Regions from separate parts of the Homo sapiens genome. Here regions 1, 3, 4, 5, 6 and 7 are each linked to region 2. The links are contacts of gene promoters, found by promoter capture Hi-C in blood cells and fetal thymus (Javierre and others, 2016). All regions are on one chromosome and are shown on one strand. The core of a region is centred on a gene start or on the middle of the fragment in contact, and the rest is flanking DNA. Distances in the headings are between cores, read along the strand shown. Region 1 overlaps LOC107986634 (a long non-coding RNA gene). Region 2 holds the start of LINC02880 (long intergenic non-protein coding RNA 2880). Region 3 overlaps LOC107986634 (a long non-coding RNA gene). Region 4 holds the start of LOC105377950 (a long non-coding RNA gene). Region 5 has its middle 520 kb from the start of RFPL4B. Region 6 overlaps LOC107986634 (a long non-coding RNA gene). Region 7 overlaps LOC107986634 (a long non-coding RNA gene).

What was found. The method cuts DNA at HindIII sites, captures the fragments that hold promoters and counts their contacts. A CHiCAGO score of 5 or more calls a contact.
Region 1: a fragment that was not itself captured here is called in contact with the fragment with the promoter of LINC02880 in region 2 in 11 of 17 cell types (M0 macrophages, M2 macrophages, M1 macrophages and 8 more); the score reaches 48.2 in M0 macrophages.
Region 3: a contact is called between a fragment that was not itself captured here and the fragment with the promoter of LINC02880 in region 2, in 4 of 17 cell types (M1 macrophages, naive B cells, total B cells and 1 more). The highest score is 5.8, in M1 macrophages.
Region 4: a contact is called between a fragment that was not itself captured here and the fragment with the promoter of LINC02880 in region 2, in 2 of 17 cell types (M0 macrophages and M1 macrophages). The highest score is 8.0, in M0 macrophages.
Region 5: a contact is called between a fragment that was not itself captured here and the fragment with the promoter of LINC02880 in region 2, in 3 of 17 cell types (total B cells, M1 macrophages and M0 macrophages). The highest score is 5.8, in total B cells.
Region 6: a fragment that was not itself captured here is called in contact with the fragment with the promoter of LINC02880 in region 2 in 7 of 17 cell types (monocytes, neutrophils, M1 macrophages and 4 more); the score reaches 7.4 in monocytes.
Region 7: a contact is called between a fragment that was not itself captured here and the fragment with the promoter of LINC02880 in region 2, in 10 of 17 cell types (neutrophils, total B cells, naive B cells and 7 more). The highest score is 17.7, in neutrophils.

Annotation. Positions count from the first base shown.
Region 1 is chr6:112,781,228-112,784,831 of GRCh38, forward strand. The region is part of intron 1 of LOC107986634 (a long non-coding RNA gene); the gene reads right to left. Among named protein-coding and RNA genes, the nearest start is that of RFPL4B, 440 kb to the left of the region's middle. The HindIII fragment of the contact is 1,015 bases long and covers 1,345-2,359 here.
Region 2 is chr6:113,902,612-113,906,023 of GRCh38, forward strand. LINC02880 (long intergenic non-protein coding RNA 2880) reads left to right here and starts at 1,776. Exons shown (of 4, transcript NR_027060.1): 1 at 1,776-2,133. The HindIII fragment of the contact is 3,143 bases long and covers 1-2,246 here.
Region 3 is chr6:112,841,520-112,845,187 of GRCh38, forward strand. The region is part of intron 1 of LOC107986634 (a long non-coding RNA gene); the gene reads right to left. Among named protein-coding and RNA genes, the nearest start is that of RFPL4B, 500 kb to the left of the region's middle. The HindIII fragment of the contact is 3,040 bases long and covers 289-3,328 here.
Region 4 is chr6:112,878,323-112,881,899 of GRCh38, forward strand. It overlaps LOC105377950 (a long non-coding RNA gene), which reads left to right and starts at 1,795. Exons shown (of 4, transcript XR_942885.3): 1 at 1,795-2,516. RefSeq lists an enhancer at 1,817-2,345. The HindIII fragment of the contact is 1,446 bases long and covers 1,454-2,899 here.
Region 5 is chr6:112,861,975-112,865,844 of GRCh38, forward strand. No RefSeq gene overlaps it. Among named protein-coding and RNA genes, the nearest start is that of RFPL4B, 520 kb to the left of the region's middle. The HindIII fragment of the contact is 608 bases long and covers 1,298-1,905 here.
Region 6 is chr6:112,823,291-112,827,151 of GRCh38, forward strand. All of the region lies in intron 1 of LOC107986634 (a long non-coding RNA gene), which reads right to left. Among named protein-coding and RNA genes, the nearest start is that of RFPL4B, 480 kb to the left of the region's middle. The HindIII fragment of the contact is 1,275 bases long and covers 749-2,023 here.
Region 7 is chr6:112,798,472-112,802,151 of GRCh38, forward strand. All of the region lies in intron 1 of LOC107986634 (a long non-coding RNA gene), which reads right to left. Among named protein-coding and RNA genes, the nearest start is that of RFPL4B, 450 kb to the left of the region's middle. The HindIII fragment of the contact is 2,337 bases long and covers 791-3,127 here.

The sequences.
Region 1 (3,604 bases), core at 602-3,101, 1.1 Mb before region 2:
AAGAAAAATTTTATTAGTTGAATCAAAGCCTTAAGTTCATGATTTGTAAGGGGAGGAAGCACAAAAAAGTATCTGACTTTTTGATAGACTTGACACAGAAGTCAATGGAGACTTGCAGTTTACGTCAGGGTTTCTCAATCTTGGCATTGTTTACATTTGGAGACAGACAATTCTTTGTCATGGGGGGCTGTGCATTGTAGGATGTGTAGCAGTATCCTTAGTCTCTACCCACTAGATGCCAGTAGCACTCCCCCACCCCACTCCCAGTTTGTAACAACCAGAAATGTCTCCAGACACTGCCAAATATCCCTTGGAGGACAAAATTGCTCCTGAGTGAGAACCATTGGTCTATAGTTATGTATTTTTTTATACACAAAGGAAGAAGTATGTTGGAAGCGTGTCCTGTGATAAGCTATTCATAAAAATAGTAAGAGTTTGTTTTCTAATTAATTAATGTCCCAGAGGACCTAGAAACTTTGAGTATTCATCAACATAGACACAGTAACTCATCTCTATCACTTCAATACACCAAGGCATGCATATATTGTCTTCATCAAGTTTACATGCATGTTTCTTGTTTGAAATAACTGACTACTGTTTAAAGCTTTATCAAACAATGTAATGGTTAATGGAGTACCTACCATATTAAAATATTTGGGATTATACCTATTATGTATGCTTTCAGAAGATTACTGGAACATAATCTTCAAATAATAGTGGTTAATGAATTTTCTGGTGCTTTTTTAGGTATTTACTTAGAATAACATTGGAATCACTCACCATATTCTTCAATTTGAAGATTAATAATACTCTTGGAATATGACAAAAAATACACTATTCATGGGGTTTACATATTTTGGAGAACTAAAAATGTTATGCATCAATTTACATCAGATGCCTAGGGCATCTCTTTGCATAGCATGTTAGAATTTGAAGAGACATGCGAAATAATCTTACGTCCGGCCACTTTAGTGGTTTTGAAACTGAGGCTTACGGAGGTTAAATAGTGTCCTCAAAATAGCACAGCGAGAGAAAGTTCTGTGACTAGATCCCAGGTGTCTGGAATGCTTTCCAGTGGCTTCTTCGCCATGTCATGCTTATGGTGGAAGATGGCATCTCAGCTCTGGGTCTACATTTAATCTATTTCTGTATTTTGAATTTAATAATATCAATGCATAAAATACTGGCTTGCCTAGTTATATTATCAAAATATCGTTTAAAACCTTAAGACCCTGTTTGTTAGTTCAGGTCCACCAGACTGCCTACTTAAATAAAACAAGTAAAAATGATGGTGAGAAATTCTTAAGTACCTGTTTGATGAAATATCACTTGATAATTCTGGAAAGCTTTCCTGTTTATTTGAATATTATAGCATTGCTGAAATTGGAATTAAATGAATGCCTGATGTTGATTTTCTTAAAAAAAGAAAAATTCTGTTGCATATTTATTGCTACACTTATTTGTAATAAAGTGTGATAAATTCTCTCAAACATGACTACAAGGCCTGCCATAGCATGTGTTTTGTCATTGCTGTTCAAGTTTACCAGGTGCTGTGTGATAGTTCAATTACCCAATACCTATTTATAAAATCAAAATATTGCAAAATGTTTGTTCCTTCAGCTTTGGGCTCAATTATAAGAAATGCGAAAGCTGAAATTCTTTTGAGATATTTGATTAAAATAGGACCATCAGATAATCCACAACATAAATAAAGTATTTTTTGATGTTCATCAAAATAAAAATTGATAAAAAGTACTCTTGTCGGGATGCTGCAGACCTAGGAAGGTGGTCTCAGTTTGAGATGAGCTATTCTAATAACAATTCCTTGCCATTTATAAAGAATGATAAAACTGGCTCTGACCATTGAAATCACCCTTTGAAACCTTCTAACCCACTAAAACAATCCCTTTTTCATTCTATTCAAGATACTCTAACTGAAAAGTGTTTTGACTATCCCTATATAGAGTTCATATAACCTCAACTTCAAATGTTATGTGTTTATCATCTAGTGGTCTTTATTATATTATAGAAAAAGGGGACACTAAAAACATAATAAATATTAGTTTGAAACGGGCAGGGAGAAATTGAAAAAAGATTTTTAAAAGATGCAATGACTGTGTAGACAACTCCAACATACCGTTTCCAAATCTAATACCATAATTCTGCTTTTAATTAGACTATTCTTGGATCAATCACAATATATTTATTTCAAGTCAGAGCTAAATACCTATGTCCTATATGTGTTACGGTACTTGATGTAATGGTGTTGAGGCTAGAAAATGAACCCTAACATGATCACAACTTTAATGAGTGTGAGCTGAAAAAGCTGCTACTTAATGCTGGTCTTTCTACAAGTGGAAGCTTGAAGTTTGCTTCTGTTAATTTGGGAAAAAAAAATCTTAATTTTTTTAAGTTAAACAAATGAAAAGTAATTATCCACCAATATTATTCATGAAGAAAACTGTTAAGTGATCTTAGAAGAAAATGAGATGCTTAAAAATTAATGTATATAGGTGGAATCAGAACTGTAACTCTGTAGATTTTTTTTCATTTATTTGTTTTCAATGGGACATTGGAATTTGACCTTGTGATCTCATTATATTCTTCCAGATTGGGAGGGACCCCAATCTGTTAACCCCATTCCAAGAAGAAAGCAGTTTCAGAAATAGTTCCTTCAAGTGGATGTGAATGAGAAAGCTTCATGTAAAATGCATCATTGTAGAACTATCACAACAGAGAATGAACATCTATGTCTCTCTCTATTGCACTGTAATACTATGAGGCTGGGCATTAGCTTTTTAGATGTTATAGGGATGTGGAAATTGTGAACTAAATTGTGAACTGAACTGCTGAACTGCAATCTGTGAGCCCAGTGAAGGTAAGCTACATTTATAGTATCCTGGGGGTCAAGAGAAAACTGGAAGAATCAAGGCATCTCTTTGAATCCTTGCTACTGCATTTACTAGCTGAGGCATTAAGTCATTTAAATTTACTGAACATCAAGTTCCACGTATGTAAAATAAGGAATACAATACTTGACTAAGAGATTTCTTGGTAAACAAACAAGCAAAAGGGCTCAAAAGATGGGAAGTATTAGAAAACTTATGTGCATGCTAAATATCAAACCAAACCCACCTCATCATGTCTAGTACATCTGTATGAGGAAATTCATTTGTTCTCTCTCTCTGTGTGTCTCTCTCTCCTTCATCAGTTCATTGATGTGAGCATCCATCTCTCTCCAATAGAACCTTGGATTCTATTTTTTAGCTTTGCCTCCTCTCAGGTGACTTCTGAGCCTCTGACAGGCCCCTTGGCACAATTTTACTTCCCTATTGGCTTGGAAATAGTGTAACCTACTCTTGTGACAGACACCAAAGTGCCTACACAGTAGAGAGCATTCAGGTGGCTATCACAAGGAACTAAATACACAGAGGCTGGTGCTAGACCCAATGTATGGATAACTGGCTCTTTTCACTCTACTTTTGGCTAGTGAACACAGCTGTCAACTGATACTTCATTCGAGACCTGATAGACCTGATGTTTGATTGTCTTGGCCACGTTGATAATGTCAATTCATTCATTACTGGGAAACAGGAAGATAAAC
Region 2 (3,412 bases), core at 526-3,025:
ACTAAGACCTGCAGCTCGGTATTTCTCTAAGGAGCCCCGACTCGTAGGGGAGCATTATCTGTGTGTTAGGGATGATCATTGCTAACAGGTTGTTCTTTGTTTCTAGGCCTTTTCAGGGAACAAAGCTAGGAGATTAGGGGTAGGTTAATGAATGGATCTGTAGATAGATAGATAGATAGATAGATAGATAGATAGATAGATAGATAGATAGATAATGTAGATAAAACATCATATTTATAATTGAATGTTTCCAATTCAAAGTCTGATTCAGGACTATAGGGCTTTTATTTGACCCCACTTAAATTTACATCTCTTTTCAACCTAAATTTCTGGTTCCCAACAACACCTACATATTACTCACTTGTTTTATACTGGGAAACATATACAATAGTCTCAGAATAATAATAGGAAAACTTTCCATGACGATGTAATTACTGGAAACATTTGAAGTTTGTGTCTGTGTGTGTGTGTGTGTGTGTGTTTTTGCAGTTCCTTTTGTTCTAAGGGTATATCCCACTTGAGGTCTACAGTCAATTCCCAGGTTTTAATGTCACTTGAAATACTTTCTCCCAAGAGGATGTGCCACCAACTCAATATCTAGTTAGGTTTGACTTTTTTCATTTTGTTTTGAGTTTTAACGATTATATCTTAATATTTATCAACTATATATTTTGGAAATCTTTTCATACTTGCATGTAGAGATATTCTTCTTCTTTTTTTTACAGCTGTGTACTACTGCATTGTGTGAATGTACCATAGTTGAGGGTCCCCTATTGATGGACATTTGAGTTTTTTCTAATACACAAATTGTGCTGTGATAGGTGGCCTTGTGAATACATCTTTCCATTTCTGTCAGTGCATCTTTGGGATAAATTAGAAACTGTAATGCTAAATCAAAAGTAGCCAGTAGAATGTCTTTTTGCTTGAATAATCATAATATTTATCCTGTGCTCTAAGGGTGAAATGATGCCACCTCTTCCCCAAGTGCAGGGAATGAAGAGATGAGCCTTTGGCCCCTGATATGTCAACAATTATCTCTCCTAGAAGACCAACTGAGCTCTCTTACCAGTAGACTTTCTGGAAGAACATCCAAACATGTCCTGATAGAAACAAAGCCAGATCTTGTCTCAGAAGAAAAAAAAAAAAATAGGGGCAAAAATATTCTACACAGATCACAAAAGTTTTCTTAGGAAACCATGCTCCCCCTGGACAGCTCCCCAGGAAGGTAACCCTTGGCGTTGATCTTGCGATTGGAAGGGTGTTCATTTTTTAATTATGCTGACAGACATTCAGTGAGAACTGTACTTCCCGAGGGCTAGTGAGCAGGGGGAGGTTTTCCCTGTTGTGCTCAGGCAGGACGTTCCAGGGATCTGGGGAGGCCCTGACATAACTGCACGTTCACACGGCTGCCCCTCCCTCCTCCTCCCTCTGTCTTCTCCAAAACAAATGACCTCGCTGGGATCCTGTTTGCCTTTTACTGACTTCCTGGACCAAAGCAGTGTGCCTGTGAGTGCAACAGCTGATCCCTTTCGGAGTGGAGTTTCCTAGCTGGTGCCTGTCCTCTCTTGAGCCTTTGTTTCTTGAGTGAGCACTCACTGGGGCTGTGGCTCCATGAACTGGATTTCAGGAAACCAGCCAAGGCATTCTCTCTCTCTCTCCATTCCTAGAAAGGCAGAAAGCCTGGGAATGGGTTCGGCAGGAAGATCTCTGTACCTCAATCTCCATTGCTTTCAGCACCACTGGCTTTCTCCCCAGCTCAAGTGCAAAACCTGCCATCGTTGCTACCTGGGGTGCCTCAGACTCACCCAAGTCCCCCAGGCCAGAGGACATGCTCTCAAGCCTTGTTTCAGAAAGAGGGACCCAAAGGCTGTTAGGGAAGAGAACCAGGGTCCTCAAACCCAGGGTTTTCTCACCCACTGCCTCTGCTCTGGCTGTGGCCTGCCAGACCTCTCCTCTGATTTTCGCTTTCCTTCCTGCCAGTGCCTTTGTTTATCCGAGGCGCCAAGATCCCACTGTGAAGTCTGAAAGGAAGACCAGTGGTTCTCGCTTTTCCTCTAGATGCTGTGTCTCCCAATGTCATCTTCTTTCCTCTCAAAGACAATTGGACGTTGTTACAGATTTTCTTGGAATGAGGTGAGTGGACGTTGTTTTTCCCTAGGAATGTTCTCCTGTGCTTCAGAGACATATTTAGAAGGGCATAAGAACAAGAGGAATTAGTGTGGGTCCCTGCCACTGGCACCCCTCCAAGCTTGGCTTTACCCCTTCATGTCAACACCATTTCCTCCCAGGCTTTTCACAGCTTTACAGCCCATCTCAAGTCTTTAACTGCTAAGTGAGCTTTAAAGAAAAGAAAAATCTTCAAAGGCTCCACCAAAGGAAAGAACGGGGCACCTCACATTCGGCCTAAGACAGGAGTGAAAAGACAGGAGATTTGACATTCGCATGGCTGTTCTCTATCCCACCCACTTACAACTTTATACTTATCCTCCCGAAGTCTCAATCCAGCTTCAATTTTATCTGAAAAGGGTCATTTGGGATACAAAAAGCTGCTCCTCCAATGCCACCAAACAACTGCTGGTGCCCTCTATTAACCATCTGAGAAAGCCTAAACATCTCTCCAGCACAAGTAGACCAGGAATTCCCAGCCCCCATCCCATATAAAATCCAAACGATGACAGTAATTGAATGACACAGTGTATTCAATAACCCCACCGTACCTTCCTTCTCACTTCCAGGGGTGATCACATTGACATCTCACCTCATCCGTGGGCTGCCCACAGCCTGGCTATGTCCAGGACTTCTGGTCTCTCTCTCTCTCTCTCTCTAAAAGATAGGGTCTCGTTATGTTGCCCAGGATAGATGTGAACTCCTGGGCTCAAGCGACCCTCTCCTCTCAGCCTCCCAAGGAGTTGTGACTACAGTCTCACACCACCATGCCCAGCTAAGCTCACTGCACATGTCAATGTCTTATCTCCCGGCCCTTCCCTTCTTCCGTTTGTCCTCCCCTCCCCTGTTCTCACTATTCACCTTTCCTTCAGTTGCCCACCTACTTCCATGTTCGGAGGCCAGTGCTCTTTGGATCTGACATGTTGTGTGTGGGTCCCAATGGTTCATAGAAGGCCAGAGGGTCAGACACTTCTGCTCAGTAAGGGGAAGGATGAGAGGATCCATCTTGATCCTTCCCATCAAGGGCTATGGCAACAATTTGTACAAAGAAACCCAAAATAAAGCAACTCCCAAGAGGAGGGAAAAAAGAAGGTAGCTCCAATTTGCTTCAATGTGGGAGAATGCGATGAACAAAGACCTACTAGTGGGAAGCTGAGAAACTCTGTGAGGGCTCCTGACTTGGAGCAGGATGGGTGGATTGCGGGGAGAGTGACCTTGCCCCTGGCCTAGTAGGGCACTATGAGCT
Region 3 (3,668 bases), core at 559-3,058, 1.1 Mb before region 2:
CACATAGGAAACACTAAAGTCTGATTTAAAACCAGGTTTTCAGGGCTCCAAACTCTGAGTTTCTCATACTTCACCATATTGTATCCTACAATTTGGCCTTCATGTAAACATACCTTGACCCACGAAACTGTGAAACTGAGGAACTCCACTAAAATCTTACCAAAATAAGTTAATGGCTGCAGAAGACTACATAGAGCTGAGCTAACACACTTTGCCCTTCAATGCTTGCTTCACACTGTGATGTCCTTCCTCTTTTTGAGCCTCTTCTGAACATTTCTCTAATATTGAAGCTTAGTTGCTTTGGATGCTAACATAGTGCACCTTGGGAAAACTTTGATTGCTACAAAGTGCATTCTCATCTTGAGTCAAATTCTGTCTTTCTAATCGCAATTTATTAGACCAAAAGGTCCTAGCTCCACCTTTTGGGCTTAAATAAAACAAAGATTATCTCTGTTTCTCTTTTAAAAAAATACTTGCAAAAAACTATCACTCATTGAATGGCTTAGTCTCTGAGCAAAATATTGCCCGTCCGTTCACCCAGTCCTAATAGTGGAAAGTTTTCAGTTCCTTCTCCACCTCAGATAGTTTCCTCTGTATAGGCTTTGCTGAATCTACATAGCTCCTATTTTAAGGTTTCCAGCTCTAAGCACAATATTTCTGGTATGGTTATATTGAAAAAAAAAGAGCAAAGCCTTTTCTGGACACACTGGTATCTGTTTCTGTTTTCTATCATCTCATCTCTCTCATGTCATGCATCACTCACACAGAGCTCATGGCAAGCACAGATTCCTGCTGGTTCCCTCATGTCCTGCTGTAAAGTCATGTTTTCCCCTGACTCTTCTACTAGCATGTTTATTTTGAATTTAAATCAATTTTCATTTATTAAAATTCATCTTGTTTAGCAACATCATAGAGCATACATTTTGAAGTCAGATTTGGTATGGAAGCAGCTGCTCAACATTCAACAAAATCCATTTCCTCTTCTTCCTGGGCACACATATAGGTCACATGGATGTTTCCTACAGCTGCTGTACAAAGAAGCATACATTAGGTGGTTTGAAACAGAAATTGATTCTTTCACAGTTCTGGAGGTTAGAAGCCTGAAATCAAGGTATTGGCAGGTTTGGTTCATTCTGAGGGCTATGAGGGAAAAGCTGTTCCATGCCTCTCTCCTAGCTTCTGGTGGTTGCCAGAAGTCTTTGGCATTTCTTAGCTTGTAGGTGCATCTCTCCAATCTCTGCCTCCATGATCATGTCGCGTTCTATTTGTGTGTTTACATGGCCATCTTCTTCTAAGGATACCAGTCATACTGGACTAGGGACCAACCTTAATCCTGTTGTATGATCTCACCCTAACATAACTATAATAACAATATCTGCAATAACCTTATGTCCAAATAAGGTCACATTTTAAGGTGTTGTATGTTAGGATTTCAATGTTATTTTTTGAAAGGCACAATTTATTTTTTATTTATGTTTTTTATTTATTATGTATTTAGTTTTTCTTCAACTTTTATTTAAGTTCTGGGGTACATTTGTTGGATGTGCAGGTTTCTTACATAGGTAAACGTGTGCCATGGTGGTTTGCTGCACAGGTCAACTCATCACCTAGGTATTAAGCCCAGCATCCATTAGCTAATTTTTCTGATGCTCTCCCTCCGCCTAGTGTTCTTACCGTTCAGCTCTCACTTGTAAGTGAGAACATGTAGTGTTTGCTTTTCTGTTTCTGTGTTAGTTTGCTGAGGATAACAGCTTCGAATTCCATCCATGTCCCTGCAAAGGACATGATCTAGTTCCTTTTTATGGCTGCATAGTATTCCATGGTGTATATATACCACAGTGTCTTTATCCAGTCTGTCATTGATGGGCATTTGGATTGATTCCATGCCTTTGCTATTGTGCATAATGCTGCAGTGAACATACATGTGCATGTGTCTCTACAATAGAATGATTTATATTCTTTATAAATCATTACTGGGTGTATATACATACACCCAGTAATGGGATTGCTGGATCTAATGGTGTTTCTGTCTCTAGATCTTTCAGGAATCACCACACTGTCTTCCACAATGATTGAACTAATTTAAATTCCCATCAACTGTGTAAAAGCATTACTTTTTCTCTGCGGCTTCTCCAGCAACTGTTGTTTCTTGACTTTTTAATAATAGCCCTTCTGACTGGTGGGAGATGGTATCTCATTGTGATTTTGATTTGCATTTCTCTAATGATCAGTGAAGTAGAGCTTTTTCTCATGTTTCTTGGCCACATAAATGTCTTCTTTGGAGAAGTGTCTGTTCATGTCTTATGTCCAGTTTTTAATGGTTTTTTTTTTTTCTTGCAAATTTGTTTAAGTTTTTGTAGACTATGGATATTAGACCTTTGTCACATGGATAGATTGCAGAATTTTTTTCCCATTCTGTAGGTTGTCTATTCACTCTGATGATAGTTTATTTTGCTGTGCAGAAGCTCTTTAGTTTAATTAGATCCCATTTGTCAATGTTTGCTTTTGTTGCAATTGCTTTTGGCATTTTCGTCATGAAATCTTTGCCTGCAAGGCACAATTTAACTCATAATAACCATACTACCCAAACTTTCCTGCAGTTACATGTAGTTATATAAATTATATTACTGAGTTCTAGCTAGTGGAATGTGAGTGTATGTAACACTTCCACACTTGATTCACAAAAATATCCCATGCTCTTTTTTCCATTTTGTTGGCTAGATACAGCAATGAGAATGGAGAGCCACAGATGGAAAGGACCTGGGTCTCTGACTGCCTTTTGAGGACGGCCACCTCTTAGAGACCAATACTTGCCTTAGTTAAATGAGCTGAACATAGATGTATTTTATATTGAGCCATTATGCTTTAAAAAAATTATGGACTTTCCAAATCCTAACTAAATACTTGGATTGACTTCAATTCTATCATTAACCAGATGTGTGAACTTGGGTGTTATTTAAACTTTCAAAGTCTGTATACTTTTCATAAGAAGAGATGCAATACCTATCATTCAACCAGTTATGCTGAGTCCCTATTAGGTATCAGGACCATGGTTCTGTACAATGAAAATAAAGATCCCTTTCCTCAGGTAACCTACATTCTTCTGAGGGAGATGAATGCTAAACATGTAATCAAATATATAAATATAGAATGTCTAGAATGTCCATAGAGATATAGACTAAAAAATGATCAAGATTTACATAGATTAACTGGGAGGGAGGCTCTAATAAGGTACAGTAGTCAAGAAGGCCTCTCAGGTATGGGAAGGGGCTGGATGTGAGACAAATGGTGAGCAAAAGCCATCCATGTAAAGGGTGCTCTAGGGACAAGCTTTGGCAAGTTGAAGGAATTAAACCAAAACTAGTGTGATTAAAGCAAATGATAAAATGTCTGGAGCATAGGAAATAAGAAAGAAGAGAAATATGAGATGAAGTCAAACTGTAGGCAGGATGTATGTTATATAGGCTTATAGCTCATTACAAGATTTTGGTTCTATTCTAAGAGATTGGCAAACCAATTGGAGCATTTTATGATCTGATTTTTATTTTTAAAAGATTACTCTGATAACCATGTTTTCACTGGATAATAGGAAAAGCATGGAAGCATTTACTAGGCATTTGGAGTAATCCAGGTGAGAAATAATGGTGACTTAGACTAGGATGGCAACA
Region 4 (3,577 bases), core at 927-3,426, 1.0 Mb before region 2:
CCACTCACATACACATAAATGAACTTCATGGATGCATGTATGGATAGAATGGATAGACTTCTGTATTGAGGTATAGATGCCTTTGTGAACAAATTTTTGTGCTTTAGCATGTTTTGTTCCTTTGTTTTAACTCTAGCATTCTTACCAAGAAAAATAACACATGTTGAAAATCCAAAGCAATGTAGATAAAGATCACATACCTTTTAGACACTAGCAACATTAGAATACCATGCAAAAAAGATGTTCATCAGGGCAAGGCTAATAAACAGTCCCCTGGAAATATCTTTCACCTCCCGCATAGTCCATTCTTCTAGCTGTAACTCCAACTAGTGCCACAAGACTTGTTTTTTTCTGGCTAAGCCCTGGGCAACATTCACCATCAAAGTACTATTATCTTCTTAATTTTTGCTTAGAAAAGAAAGAAAAACACACTTAGTGTTAAGATTGGATATGTTTTTAATTTTTAGATATCTGTACTATGGACATGAGCAAAATAATATGGAACTACAGTTTTTAAAAATGGCCACACAGAAAACCACCTTAGATGAAATGAATATGTAACCTGCCGTCGATTTAAAAAAATTAAGCTCACTGTCTCATGTTGAAAGGTCACAATCATTAATCTATTTAAAGTTAGCAACGGCCCGTGTGTCATACACGATTGTGGACACCTGACCTTGATACCTGCCATTCCACTGCCTCCCACAAGCTGTAGACAATTTAGTACTCCATCTGACAGTGACTTCTTTGTCATTTCTGGCTATATTCTTCATTTTTCCTCCTCTTGCTCCCACTTTAGAAACTACCATGTCCTTTCTTTCCCTTTTATGCTTTCTTATGAAATTTTATATCCTTTAATATTGTAACTACGTATATCACATAAAAAATAAACAACAAAAATCTTGGAAGGTATTCTACAGAATAAAGACGTCAGTCAGTTTGAAAATATTAGATACTTAATACAGGTAACATCTTAAGATTTAAAGTTTAGACTTATACTATGTTTTTAAAGGGACACTGATCAAGGATCTGAACTAAATTATAATGTAGACACAAAAAGACATCGCTAATGTTTCTGTAACAAAATGTCCACTAACAAAACAAAAGGTATTTTGTCTTAAAATTTGCAATGCTTTATTTTAAACAGTACAATAGCAACAATTATGTACCGTGACACAATTATAAAAAATTATCATCAAAGATAATAAACATTAAGATATTGTTGAAGGGTATTATTAGCTGGATTGTGCCCCTCCTCACACACCAAATTCATATGTTGAAGTATTGGCCCCCAGTACTTTAGAATGTGACTGTGTTACAGGATATTTAGGGTGGAATATCTCTGTGGCAGGTGGAAACGTCTGTGGCAGGTGGTGCCTTTGCCCGAGTTCTTGTCCTGCATCCAGGAAGAATGAGGTATGGAAACAAGCGGAAGGGGAGCAAGATGAAGAGAAGCTTTATTGAGTGTTCTAACAGCTCAGAGGAGACCCGCAGGGGGCAACTCCTGAAGGAGGGGCCTTACCAGGGACCAACCCCCTTCGGCACAGGAATCTTTCTGCCTCCTGCAGCCATTCATGGCCCAAGGGCTGGGCCCCAACCCAGCTTTGAGATCCCAGCGGGTGCCAGGAGAGGAGAGAGACCGGGCAGCGGGATCAGATACCCCGGAGCCTGAAGAGACATGCGGGCCTTCCCAGCCGCCAGGGGGCAGGCAGCAGAGATGCGTGGGTCTGGCCGCTGCAGCTGCACCCAGGGAGCTCCAGCCCCATCAACTCGGAAGGGGCGGGGCTCCTGCTTGTTCCTGGCCCTTGCCTGCTCGTGGAGCGAGAGGGCCAGGTCAGCAGCAGCGGGTTGGGTGGCTGCAACTGCACCAGGGAGGGCAGATCCTGCCTGTTCCCAGCCCCTTCCAAGAGCACAGGAAGGCTCGGATCCACAGCTGCAGTTTTGGCTGATGTAGCCCCGCTACGTATTGCAGGAGGGTGGGGCTCCTGCCTGTTACGTGAAGCAGGGGGCCTGGATCTGCTGCCGAGGTTTGAGGTTTGGGCGGCTGCAGTGGCACCCGGGAAGTTTCTGCCCCAAATCAGAAGGAGTGGGGCTCCCACTGACTCCACAGAGTGTGCAGCCCCAGCCCTCCTCTCTGCTGCAGCCGGGGTAATGGCAGCAGCTGTTGCCATCAACTGCATTTGGAAATAGAACCTTAAAAGAGGTACTTAAGTTAAAATGTGGTTTTAGGGTGGGTTCTAACTCAATACCACTGTGCCCTTATAAAAAGAGGAGATTAGGACACAGTCGACAAAGAGGATGACCATGTGAGGACGCAGCAAAAAGGCGACCACCTGGGAGCCAAGGAGAGAGGCCTCAGAAGAAACAAAACCTGCCAACCCCTTGAACTCAGACTCTCAGCCTCCAAAATTGTGAGAAAATTCTTCTGTTGTTTAAACCATCCAGTCTGTAGCATTTTGCTATGGCAGCCGTAGAAAACTCATACAAAGGGTAACAGCAAGAGTCTATTTGTCAAGGTAAGGTGAAAGTTTGGAAAGGACATAGAGCTTGTTTCTTTCTTATTTTTTTTTTTCCCTTTAGGCATTCAGGGCTTGATAAGGCAAACTTTGCTCTTTAAAATATCAACATGTCTTTCAAGGTTCCCACTGAAAAGGTTATTTCATATTGTTCATTTTTGCCCATAATTTTTACTCACTTCAGAAAATAGGCTTTTTAGGAGCCTAGCATTTGCACTTAACTCTCTGAACAGGACTTAAAGAGTGTAACCAAAAGACAGAAAAAGATTACTCAGTATGGAACAAGCGAAACAAAAAAATAGTTGGGGGAGTAGGGTGGAGGATGAAAAAAATGCACAGCGAGGGGGTTGAGTCAGCTCCTGTGTTTCCATGGAGAGGACTTAAGCTTCTCCAGAAGTGTAGTGAAGGCCCCTAGTGATCCATAAAGGTCCTGTAGCTGGCTGCACAGGGGTGGCCAAGGACCAGGGTGTGACTGACAGGCGGCATCTTGCTGAATAGCATTTTTTCACTTGTATTGGTAATCCAAAAAGCACTTGCCAATTGACATACTTTAGGCTAAACAAGAGGCAGAGGTTGTTCTCAGAACTTTTAAAAATTATTATATTATTTCTTAAATTTGAACTTGTTTCCTGTTTTTCTGTGTAAGGTATAAGCTCCATCTCAAAAAAAAAAAAAGAAGAAAGAAAGAAATCTCTGCCATCAGAATTTGCTTAGAATTCTGCTATAGAATGTCCTTATTGATAACATAGAAATAGGATTAGGGATTATTTTAATAATAAAATAATAAACATATACTTTAAGAGTGATCTAAGGCTGCAAAATTTAAATTATATTGGCTGTCTAACTGACCTGGCTAAATACATTTTTTGATTATCAATACATAAATCATGGAGTTAAGTATGTATACAAATGCAGAATTAAGTTCTTCAGCCCTAAATATCTTTTGGTGAATCAATTTAAAATTGCCTTTCTAAATATTATTAGTTATTATTATTAAGCTATTAATATTTACAGTCTTTGCCACTTAGTAAAATGTGACTTTGTCTTAAAGTAGACCAACA
Region 5 (3,870 bases), core at 352-2,851, 1.0 Mb before region 2:
AAGAGAAAGGACAAAATGCAGTTATGTAAAATGTTCAATTAAAACCAGAGAAGGCAGAAAAGGACTGCAAGGCAAAAATGTTACAAAGAACAGATAACAAATAGAAAATAGTTGGGAATATGGTAGATATTAATCCAATTATATTATTAACCACTTCAAATGTGAGTGATCCAAATACTCCCATTAAAAGACAGATACTCTGACATTAAGTGTTCTTATCGCAATAATATGTAAATTTAAGAAGCTCAAGTATATGTTGTCTACAAGAAAATTGCTTTAAATGTAAAAATGAAGACAGATTAAAAGTGAACACATGGAAAAATATACCATATTAACACTAAAAGCCAGAATTGCAGAAAATATATATTCTATTTTTATACTGAAGGAGCTGAAGACACAATTTATACACTTTTGAACAACATAAAAGACTAGTGGTATATAAACCATTACAATCAGGTACAGTATTCCTCCCCTGATCCCTGTTTATTCCAGGGTATATGGTCCAAGACCCCCAGGGGATAACTGACATCTCATATAGTATGATACCAAACCCGATGGCCATCAGTCAGAACTAATTTCTGTTCAGATTTTCCATATGTTTAATTCCTTTTCCTTCCTAAGCATTGATCACGTCCTGTGGCCATAACTTTTGAAGTTTGAGGTAGGAGGTAAGCTAGCATGAATTTCTTTGTACTTCTTCACAATTTCATGAAGAGAAGATTCATTCTTACTGTAGATCTTAACAGCGTAAGTATATGATTTTTTTTTCTTTATTAAGTCGAGAGCTTTCACCTTTTCACTTAAAGGAGGCACTTTATGGCTTCTCTTTAGCACATCCAAATTGCCAGGATCATTACTCTTGCACTTTGGGCCCATTATTGAATGAAACAAGGGCTACTTGAGCACAAGACTGTGATACCAAGAGAGTGGATCAGATAATCTAGATGGCTACCAACTAACTAACAGGCAGCATCTACAGTGTGGATATACCGGACAAAGGGATGAGTCACGTGCCTGGTGGGAAGGAGAGGGACAGCACAGGATGGTGTGACATTTCATCACACTATGCAGAATGGCTTGCAATTTAAAACTGATGAGTTATTTCTGGAATTTTCCATTTAATATTTTTGGACCATGATTGCCCACAGGTAACTGAAATCACAAAAAGCAAAACCGCAGATAAGGGAAGACTACTGTAATTCCTTTCTTGGTGGTTCTAGGCCTCCACCTCCCAGAGATCACCATGCCCAGAGCCCTGGTTTCTTCTTCTCCAGAGGTCTTTATGATGCCCTGAGCAAGCTTCCATCATGGCCTGCATGTAAAGTTGCCCCTAGGCAACTTTTTGATCACTATGAGTTGATCATAATATAATAGGGACTAATAGGTAAAAAAGACGTGAGATCAATATTAAAGAAGATATTTCTCATGGTGACATCTGTCCAAAGATAAACTATTAAGCTACTTGTTGATTTTCTAAGTCTCTTGGTCTTGGAAGAGTCACATAGATTTTGAGACAGTTCATCAGGGGTGTCATATCAAATATTCAAATACTTGCCAGGGATGATTTGATTCATAGATTCGTAAGAACTTCTTAGTCCAACAGACAAAACACAAGTAGAACACTTGAAGTTAAACCTTTTCTGAAGATTTTTTCTTATAAAGTTTGTAGGTCTCTATGTCTACAATGACCTTATTTTTTCCAAAAAAGTCATCAGCAGTTTTTTAAATACAGGATAGAAATATTACTGCAGCCAGAGTGATATTTTTGAAATGCAAATTTGAATAGATCACCACATCCAGATTAAATATTTCAGACTATCCATTTCCTTCTATAATTAAAGAAAACAATCTTAGCAAAAGTTCGCTGTAGGGCCCTACCTATATTTCCAACTCTTGATCTCATGAAGCTTCTTAATATCTATGTTCCAACCATTCCTTACTACCTTTATTTTTGTATACATTATGCAGCTGCTTCTACCACAGGGCCTTTGCAATTGCTCCTACCACAGGGCTGCTGCCTAGAATACATTCTCCTACCATTTTTCTCTAGATTATTACTATTCCTTCTTCATATCTGAACCCAATTATCATTTACTCAAAGTTCTTCCTGATCTTTTTGACAATGTCAAATTCTTTTATTGTATTCCACTATAGTGCCTGCACTTTTCCTTCATGGCACTTATCAAAATTGTACTGTCATGTAATAGTGGTATGATCACTTAATTAATGTCTGCCTCTTACCATTTGAACTATAAACTCCACAAGGGCAAGGGCAGAATCTGTTTTCATGATTTATTCCCCTAAACTGGGACTGGAAATATTATTGAAATTCTTAAATAATTTTTAAAAGAGTGAATGAAAGAATGGTTCATTATACCTAAGAATAGAATCCCACTCATATTCCTTTTTAAATTTGTGGTTTCCTTTATTACAAAAAACTAGAGAGATTTCATTTAGCTCTGTATTTAATCAGAAGTTAGATAAGTAGCTGCCTGTGTGGTAACATTTCAACAAGGTCCTAATTCTTCTCTCTCTCCCCTCTGGCTGTTGGTTTAAATTCTAATTGGATAAATCTTCTTTACTTTAGTCTAAGGTTCTAAGCTCTATTAGGTTGAAATTCCTGTGAGGCAAGGGAAAGTTTGGCTTTATTGGGAGATTGCTGCTTAACTGGAGACAGCCTCACTGGGATAACCAGACGGGCCTTTAGTTCAGCTGTGGGTTGTTGCCTTTAAACTATTAACTTATAACACCTAAATCAATGTTTAAAATAACCTTATGTTGTCACTTATTTATTTACTTTATTATATATCCCAAATTAGAGAAGGCTTGGGCAGTGCTTGAATTCTGAAAGGGTCTTTCTGGGAAGCAAAGCTATAAAGGGATGCGGAAACGGCATGAGGCTCCTGGGTAGCCACAAGACCCTGGGGTAGGTGAAGAAGGATGTGTGTAAGACATGCTTTGTCATAGTCACAATTTTTTAGGGGCCATGAATCACTCATGTTGCTTTAAGTAAGGTGCTCCTTTATCCCTTACGTTTCCAGAGTAGCTTCCAGAATGAGAAAAGGATGACAAAAGGTCTCGCAAGTTCTGTGTTAGCAATTCATGTGTGATATCCTAGACTTCATGTACATGGAGACTACTTTACCCAATTAATGACTGAGCTAATTCATGAAATAGTAATAATGATAAAACTTCAATGTTTAATCTGTTTGATGCAGGACAGGTTCTTGGCTTCACTGGGGAAGAAATTCAAGAGCAAGCTGCTGGTAGAAGAAAACAGCTTTATTGAAGCAGTAGCAATGTTTACAGCTCTGTGACTGCTCCTGCAGAGCAGAGCTACCCCATAGGCAGCGTGCCCAGAGTAGCAGCCTAGGGGAAGTTTTGCAGTTGTATTTATACCCACTTTTAATGACATGCTAATTAAGGGGCAAATTATTCAGAAATAGCTAGAAAGTGGGCGGTAACTTCTGGGTGTTGTCATGGCAATGGTAAACTGTCATAACACTGGTGGGTATCTTATGGAGGGGTGCTTTTGGTGCCTCTTTTTAGTTTCAGCCAGTCTTCAGTCTGGTCCAGAGTAGAATCCCACCTGCCTGCCTCCTACCTCCATATTTGCTCGATGCCAATTTTGTAATGTTTCTAGAGTCCATTGTGTTCTTTCTTAGTAGAAAAGATGACAGATATTAGATGATTTTTGTTCATTCACATTTAACAGAATTGGAGATGCAGAAGGATAGAATGTGCTAGTTTTATGTATTATGTAAATCATAAATGTAAACATTTTTACATACATATTTATTTATTACATAGTTATGCATTCCTGCATTCCTTTAGTCATGAAAGTTCAAGGTAAATAATGTAGGATATTTG
Region 6 (3,861 bases), core at 136-2,635, 1.1 Mb before region 2:
CCTCTATAATCCCAGCACTTTGGGAGGCTGAGGTGAGAGGATTGCTTGAGACCAGCCAGGGAAAAATAGTAAGACCTCATCTAAATTAGTTGGGCATGATGTTGTGTGGCTGTAGTCTCAGCTACTCAGCTGGCTGACATGGGAGGATCACCTGAGCCAAGGAGTTCAAGGCTAAAGTGAGCTGTGACTGCACTCCACACTTGGTGACAGAGCAAGGCCCTGTCTCTAAATAAAGAAAGAAAAATCTATAATAAACACTGGAGTGCAGATATCTCTTTGAGATACTAATTTTGTTTCCCTCAAGTATATATCCTGAAGTGAGATTGCTGAATCCTATGATAATTGCATTTTCAATTTTTTGAGGACCCTCCTTACTGCCTTCCATAGCAGCTTTACTGATTTTCATTCCCGCCAACAGTGCACAAAAGTTCCCTTTTCTTTACTTCCTTCTGCCACTTGTTATCACTTGTCTTTTTGATAACAGCCATCCCAGGTGTGAGGTCTGTTTGATAAACAGTGTTGGGAAAACTGGATATCCATATGCAAAAGAATAAAATTGAACCCCTATTTTACACCACTCAAAAAAGTTAACTTGAAATGTAAGCCTCAAAACCATGAACCTCTTTGAAGAAAACATTAAGAAAATTCTCCATAACACTGATCTTGGCAATGATATTTTTGTATATGACCCCCAAAGCACAAGCAACAAGAAAAATAAGTAAGTAAGTGGAACTACATCAAATTAATAAGCTTCTGTACAGCAAAGAAAATGATCAACAAAATGAAATTGAAACCTATGAAATGGGAGAAAATATTTGCAAATCATAATCTGATAAAAGGTTAATATTCAAACTATACAAGGAATTCATGCAATTGAATAACAATAAAGCAATCTGATTTTAAAATGGCCAAAGGACCTGTATAGACATTTCTCCAAAGAAGACATACAAATGGCCAACAGGTACATGAAAAAGTGTTCAAATTCACTAATTGTCAGGATTTTCAAATTTTTCATAAAAATTTCAAATATTCATGAAGTTAATAACAGTGTAATGAGCCTCGATATTCCCATCACTCAAATTCAACGAGATTTTGCCACACTGACTATCCTTTTTCATTTATTATTGTTAAATTTATGAGAACTAAATGAAACTGAGGGCATGCAATACTTAGCGGAGTTCCTGGTACAGAGTGAATGCATAATATGCAGTTTCTATTTAAAGTTATTCATCCATAAAATAGGGATAATATTACCTAATACGGAGTAATTTTTGAAAAATTAAATCCCAAAAAAGTAGAGGTGGCAGTTCTTTTTAATTTGAAAAGTGAAATAACATGGCACAGATAATTAGTATGATTAAAGAGGATCACTGTTAATCACAGAAAAGGAGAAGCAAATAATAGTATATCTCTATGCCTGCAACAAAGAGGAGAGTGTTCTACTCCTATGCACATAGGGGAAAAGAAAACTGACGTGAACACAGAAAGATTGGTAGTTGCCAAAGATAAATTACCCAAGGCCTATTGTTGAGTAGAATTGACCCTAAGAGGCAGAACTTAATAATTGTCCTCCCTTTTAGGATGAGTAAATCTCACCATTGGGACGTCTTGGATAATATACGTAAGAGAAAAGTTTTCAATGTCCTGACCTCCCCTGCTCCTTTTCCTTTACTGTATTACCTGAAGAAGCACAGCCCACTGAAGATTGTCACCTTTCACAGTTCACCTTACCCAGGTTCCCTGTAGGACACAGCAATACTGATGGTTTATTTTCTGATAAGCTCACCTTCTTGCCTGTCCTGACATAACATTGCCCAGGTGGCCCTCCTGCCACTATGGCTTCTCATTTCAGGCCTTGACCCACTTTTCGTCTTCCCACCCCAAATGAGGGCATCACAGCTCCTCTCTTGGTCTGTCTTTCTCTACTCTCTACATCCTCTCCACTGGCATTATCCATCTATTCTCCAGCTTTCAAAAAATTATAACTAAACAGATGATTCTCAAATCTACCTGAGTCTACTCAAGCTTCACTCTTATAGTCCCCAAGGCCACCTAGACTATTCCATTTGGAAATTTCTGATACTTCAAACAAACTCCATAACTCTCCATCAGAAATTATTAGTTTTCTTCTCCCAACTTCCTTAAGTGTGAATTCAGATTTTTAAAAATTGTATGCTAAACTCATATTTTTAAATAATAATTCTTTCTAGAAGGTGCTTTAAATGAGATAGATTTAAGTTTAAATCATATTTAAGCCACTTGTATCAAAAGGCTATAAGGAGCTCTGGACTTAATGAACCTAAGTTTCCCCACATATAAAGTAGAGGTGATATACATCTGGAAAAGTTGTGAAGACTAGGCATAACATATATAAGCATGTAAAGCAATGTTTGACATATAATGGTACATAATGAATAAATTAATTAATTTGAAGCTACTTGTTTAAATTAGTTATAAATTTAAGTTTCATTTTAAGTCACTGAGTATTTGGTACCATGATTCTTAAAATAGAATATTCTATTTATCAATGGTTAGTTGATATTTTTCTTCAATAACCATATTGAATGGTGCTACATGAGTAAACATCTCTGCAGAAAACATGTGAATGTTGCTAAATTGAAAAATTTAGCAAAATGTTTGCTATTGAATCATAGCAAAAATTTACCAGCCTAAGAATTATGGTTTATCATCCACGACAACTATGACCTTTGTACATCTCCTTGCTGCTCATGAAGATCCATCCAAGATAATTAGAAAAAGTAGTGGAACCACTTGAACAAGATAGCATGCACCAATAAGGTGCCAATGAAATGTGTTCCTGACAGGAAAGAAGTTACAAATGTAATTGAACCACTACTCTCTGAAATGCCCTCTTATAAAAAAAAAGTAAATAAGTAAGTAGATAGTGAAGGGAGTGGTGAGGATGGTGGTGGTGAGGAGGGTAGAACAGGTGGTGGGAGGGATGAGTGGCTAAGGTGGTGAAAAAGGGGGAGATTTGTGGAGGAGGAACAAGTGAGGGAGAGTAAGAAGAGGGAGATGGTGAAGAATGGGGTAGAGGAGGGGGTTTTCAAGGAAGGGGAGATTATGGAGGGAGGGGAGATATGGAAGAAAAGAAGGTTATGTAGATTAGTGTGGAGCGGGTGATGGTAGATCCAGAAGGTATTAAAAGCTACAAAAAGTAAATAACAGCTTGTTTGTTGATAGACACATCAGGCATGGCATTCTATAAATAAGATCATCTTTGAAGCAAACACCGCCTTAGACCCCTTAATGATATCATTCTTGAACCAGTTACTATGGAAGCACAGTGATTTGTATTACCATTTGTCTTTTAGAGGTGATCTCCCTCCCACCCATATTCTATGCGTGGGAGATATTCTTGAACATATTGTATCTTTTAAAGGACAAAACAAATAGCAAACATAATTGTTTAAATGTAAATATTTATTATGGTTGGAAAATGAAAACTGTTTAGAATTTTTAGTCCAGATTTTGTGTTTATGAGACAAGTTAGTATTTTAAGTGACTCCTAATCAGGAAGCAGAATATTGGATATTCTTCTGATGCTTGATACTAATGCTGGTAAGGATAGAAAAACTTCACTCTTGGGGTCTCCTTCGGTTAAAGTCTCCTAACTCTAAACTTCAAATTTATTTTTAGTATATATATGCTTCAAATATTTCACAGGACGTACCTATACTAAAATACTATTTGCTGTTGATCTAAATTTTAAACTTAACTGCAGTTCTGTATTTTATTTGGCAACCCTATTCTGGGCAAGTCACTTAATTTGCATTTCACTGGGCCTTCACTACAGGAGTGATGTGGGATTTTTCTATTAATCTCTCAAAAGCACAATGC
Region 7 (3,680 bases), core at 709-3,208, 1.1 Mb before region 2:
ATCTCAACCTCCAGCTTCAGGAAATGAATTTTGCCAACAACCAAAGAACGTGAAACATCCTGGAGCCCCATATAAGAACAACAGGCACCACCTCCCTAACCTGTCAATATCCTGGGAAATAATGAGCAGAGTATCCAGTCATGCCACACCCCAAAATCTGACCTAAAGAAACTGTGAGATAACTAATTTGTTTTTGTTTTTGTTTTGAGACAGAATCTTGCTCTGTCACCCAAGCTGGAGTGCAATGGCACAATCTTGGCTCACTGCAACCTCTGCCTCCCGGGTTCAAGTGATTCTCCTGTCTCAACCTCCTGAGTAGCTGGGACTACAGGTGTGAGCCACCGCATCTGGTTAATTTTTTTATTTTTATAGTAGAGATGAGGTTTCACCATATTGGCCAGGCTGGTCTTGAACTCCTGACCTTGTGATCTGTTACAGGCGTGAGCCACTGCACCCACCCTAATTTGTATTTTTTTTTTTTTTTTTTGAGACAGAATCTTGCTCTGTCACCAGGTTGGAGTGCAGTGGCGCGATCTCCACTGACTGCAACCTCAGCCTCCCAGGTTCAAGCAGTTGTCCTGCCTCTGCCTCCAAGCAGCTGGAACTACAGGTGTGCACCACCACGCCCAGTTAATTTTTGTATTTTTAGTAGAGACAGGGTTTCATTACGTTGGCCAGGATGGTCTTGATCTCTTGACCTCATGATCTGCCCACCTCAGCCTCCCAAAGTTCTGGGATTACAGGCGTGAGCCACCACGCTGGGACTAATTTGTATTTTTTAATGTTGCTAAGCTTGTGGCAATTTCTTATGCAGCAACAGGAAACTAATGCTGCTTGGAAGTGACTTACTTCACTTTTGCCTACACTGCATTAAACAAAGTTTAATCATTCAAGCCCATCTAACTGCAAGACATTGGAAAATGTAGATTAATTTGTTCCTAGGAACAAAAGGAAATGAACTGTTGAGCACATAGGAGTGACTTTGCTATTGTTATTTATTTTAGCCAAAGATAACCAAGTCATATTCTCTGGGGCCTTTAAAATATACATGCTGATACATTGCAGTATTTAATATGATTCACTCATTTTGTTTTCTCACAATAATGATAAATGTAATGTCAACCTTATTTAATGTTTAGGCCTGATTTTCATCTGAATATATCAGATGAACTTCAACAAGTTATTTTGCCACTCCATTTCATTTCTGCTTCTATATAAAATAGCAGATGGGTAATCCAAATCACACATAAAAGGACAGACACTGAACCTTTAATAGAACATCTGAGAAGGAGAGCTTAGGTACTGGCTTAACAGACATGGAAATTAAAACTATTCCTTCTTGGGTCATGTCAATGACCATATCAATACACTCTGATATTCTCAATGGGAAAATCAATATAACAAATGCTTGGGTTCATTATTCTCTCTCTGCCTTTCTTTTAAGAAATGTTTCTGACATAAATTTAATGTATAGTTAACACACTGAAATGTAATGTGATGGTAGCTTTTTGCTTATTTTGTTCTGAATATTCTACACAGATCTTATCCACAAAAATATTTTTTATCAACTACAGATGCTCACCCTCCAACTGACGTTTTTGTCTTCAGTTCTAGACCTGTGTTTTCAGTTTCTTAATCAACATTTTTACCTAGTTATATGAAACTGTTTCAGACCTAATAATATTTCAAAAATTGTACTCACCATATTTCAACCCAAACTCACTTCCAAACCTTGTATTTCTTATCTTAAAGAATCATATCACATTCATTCAGTTCCAAGTTGGAAATTTGAGGGTAATCTTAAACTCTTCTTTTTCTCTTATGTCATCCAATCTGTCACCTAGTCCCATCTTCTCTATGTTCCACATAGCATTCAGATCTTTCCTCTGCTCCCCATTTCAACTAGATTTCATTAGCTCAGACCTGCCTTATTTCTCTAAAATACTAGAACAGCTTTTTAATTAATTTCCCCAACCCCAGTCGGATTATCAGCCACATAGTTGTGAGAGTGATATTTCTAAAATGCAAGTCTTATTAACACATGCTTAAAATCATTTAGTGGCTCCTTTTTGAAGTTAGGTAAAAGTCCAAAGTTTTAGATATTTACCAGGGCCCTTATTATCTGTACCCTACTTACATTTCCATCTAATCTTTTGCTACAACCTCAAGAGATCACTCTTAACCAGCTTTATAGAAATTCTTGCAGTTTTCTGATGAGGCATACTCTCTGGCACCTTTGAGTCATTTCAGTATCTTTTTGTTAATTTACATTTCAAACTTCTTGAATAATAATTGCTATTAAAGACTTTAAATTGTATCTTTTCTTTGAAGACTTTGTTAACTTTCTTGGATAAAGTGAGGTGCTCTTGAGAAATTTTGTAACTATGGGCCTCTACCATGATCACCTTTCCAATTATGTTCTTATTGCCAGTTTTTAAATGTCTCCTACAGTTGCTAGATGTTTTGGGGGGTGAGGCCTACCACTCATTTAATCTCCATGTACTCAGACAATAGCTTAACACATAAAACATGGGAGACACTCAAAATTGTTCTATGAGTGGACAAATAAGTGAACCACAGGGAGGGAGTTAATTTGAGAGGAAGTTGTGGGATATAATTCAAAACACATAGTAACTAAATGTTTGAGAAAAAGAATTGTGGTAGTTTATTCTACTTTCTTTTTTTTGGTCTTGACTTTCAGAATGATGTTTTCTTCTTTATACTTCCCCAGAGACAACACGTAATAGGTAATTCTGTATTGAATAATAACCAGAATGCAAAATTATTATATTACTTTTTAAAAAATTGCTGTTCATAACAAAAAGTAACAGACAAAGATTTGAATGAATCTTTTGAAATTTTATGTAATTTCTATTTAGACTAATTTATATATAAAGAAGGGAATAAGTAATTTTTTTCCATTCAAAAGAACTAAATATTTCAAGCAAACATTTTAGGATAAATGATCAACATCTAAAATTCCTTAAAAAAGTGAACTATGCAATGCAGTTCTTCAGGAGGGGCTTTTTTCTTATATTTAATTTCACTCAGGAAGATATGGTAAATTATTGTCAGGTTTAGTTAAATTCTGTAAAAGGCCTTTTTCAGGAAGACAGGCATTATAGCAAGCTTGTATTTCTTCCTTGATTCTGGAAATTGATACACTGAAAGCAGTTCATAACAGTAAAGCTGTATCTAAGTTTATGTTTTTACCAAACTCAACCCTCTGTAACATAGTCCCCAAAACAAATAATAGGGAAAATAGTTTATAAACAATCATGTTTGCACTGGAATCCATGAAAGCTACAGTTTCAATAGTTCTAAGATTCATTATACAGGTTTTAGAGATAGAGACACACAGACACAGAGAGAGACAGAGAGGGGAAGAGAGAGAAAAAGAGAGCGAGAGCACGAGAGAGAGAGAGGGGAGAGGGTTGGGAGAGGGAGAGAACGACTAAAATGTGCACTTATATGTATGTGTTTATGCCTAATTGCCTTATCTTTGTATGAATAATCTATAAAGTCAAGCTTATCATTTCAGTGATTCCTTTAATCATGCACAGTATCAGTTAAATAAAAATTTGGCCTTTCCCCTTACTTTCTATCTATAGAATTTGAGCTGTATAAAAGTGAAATTTTACTCAAGGATTAACCAATTAAATATCCATCTTCTTCATTTG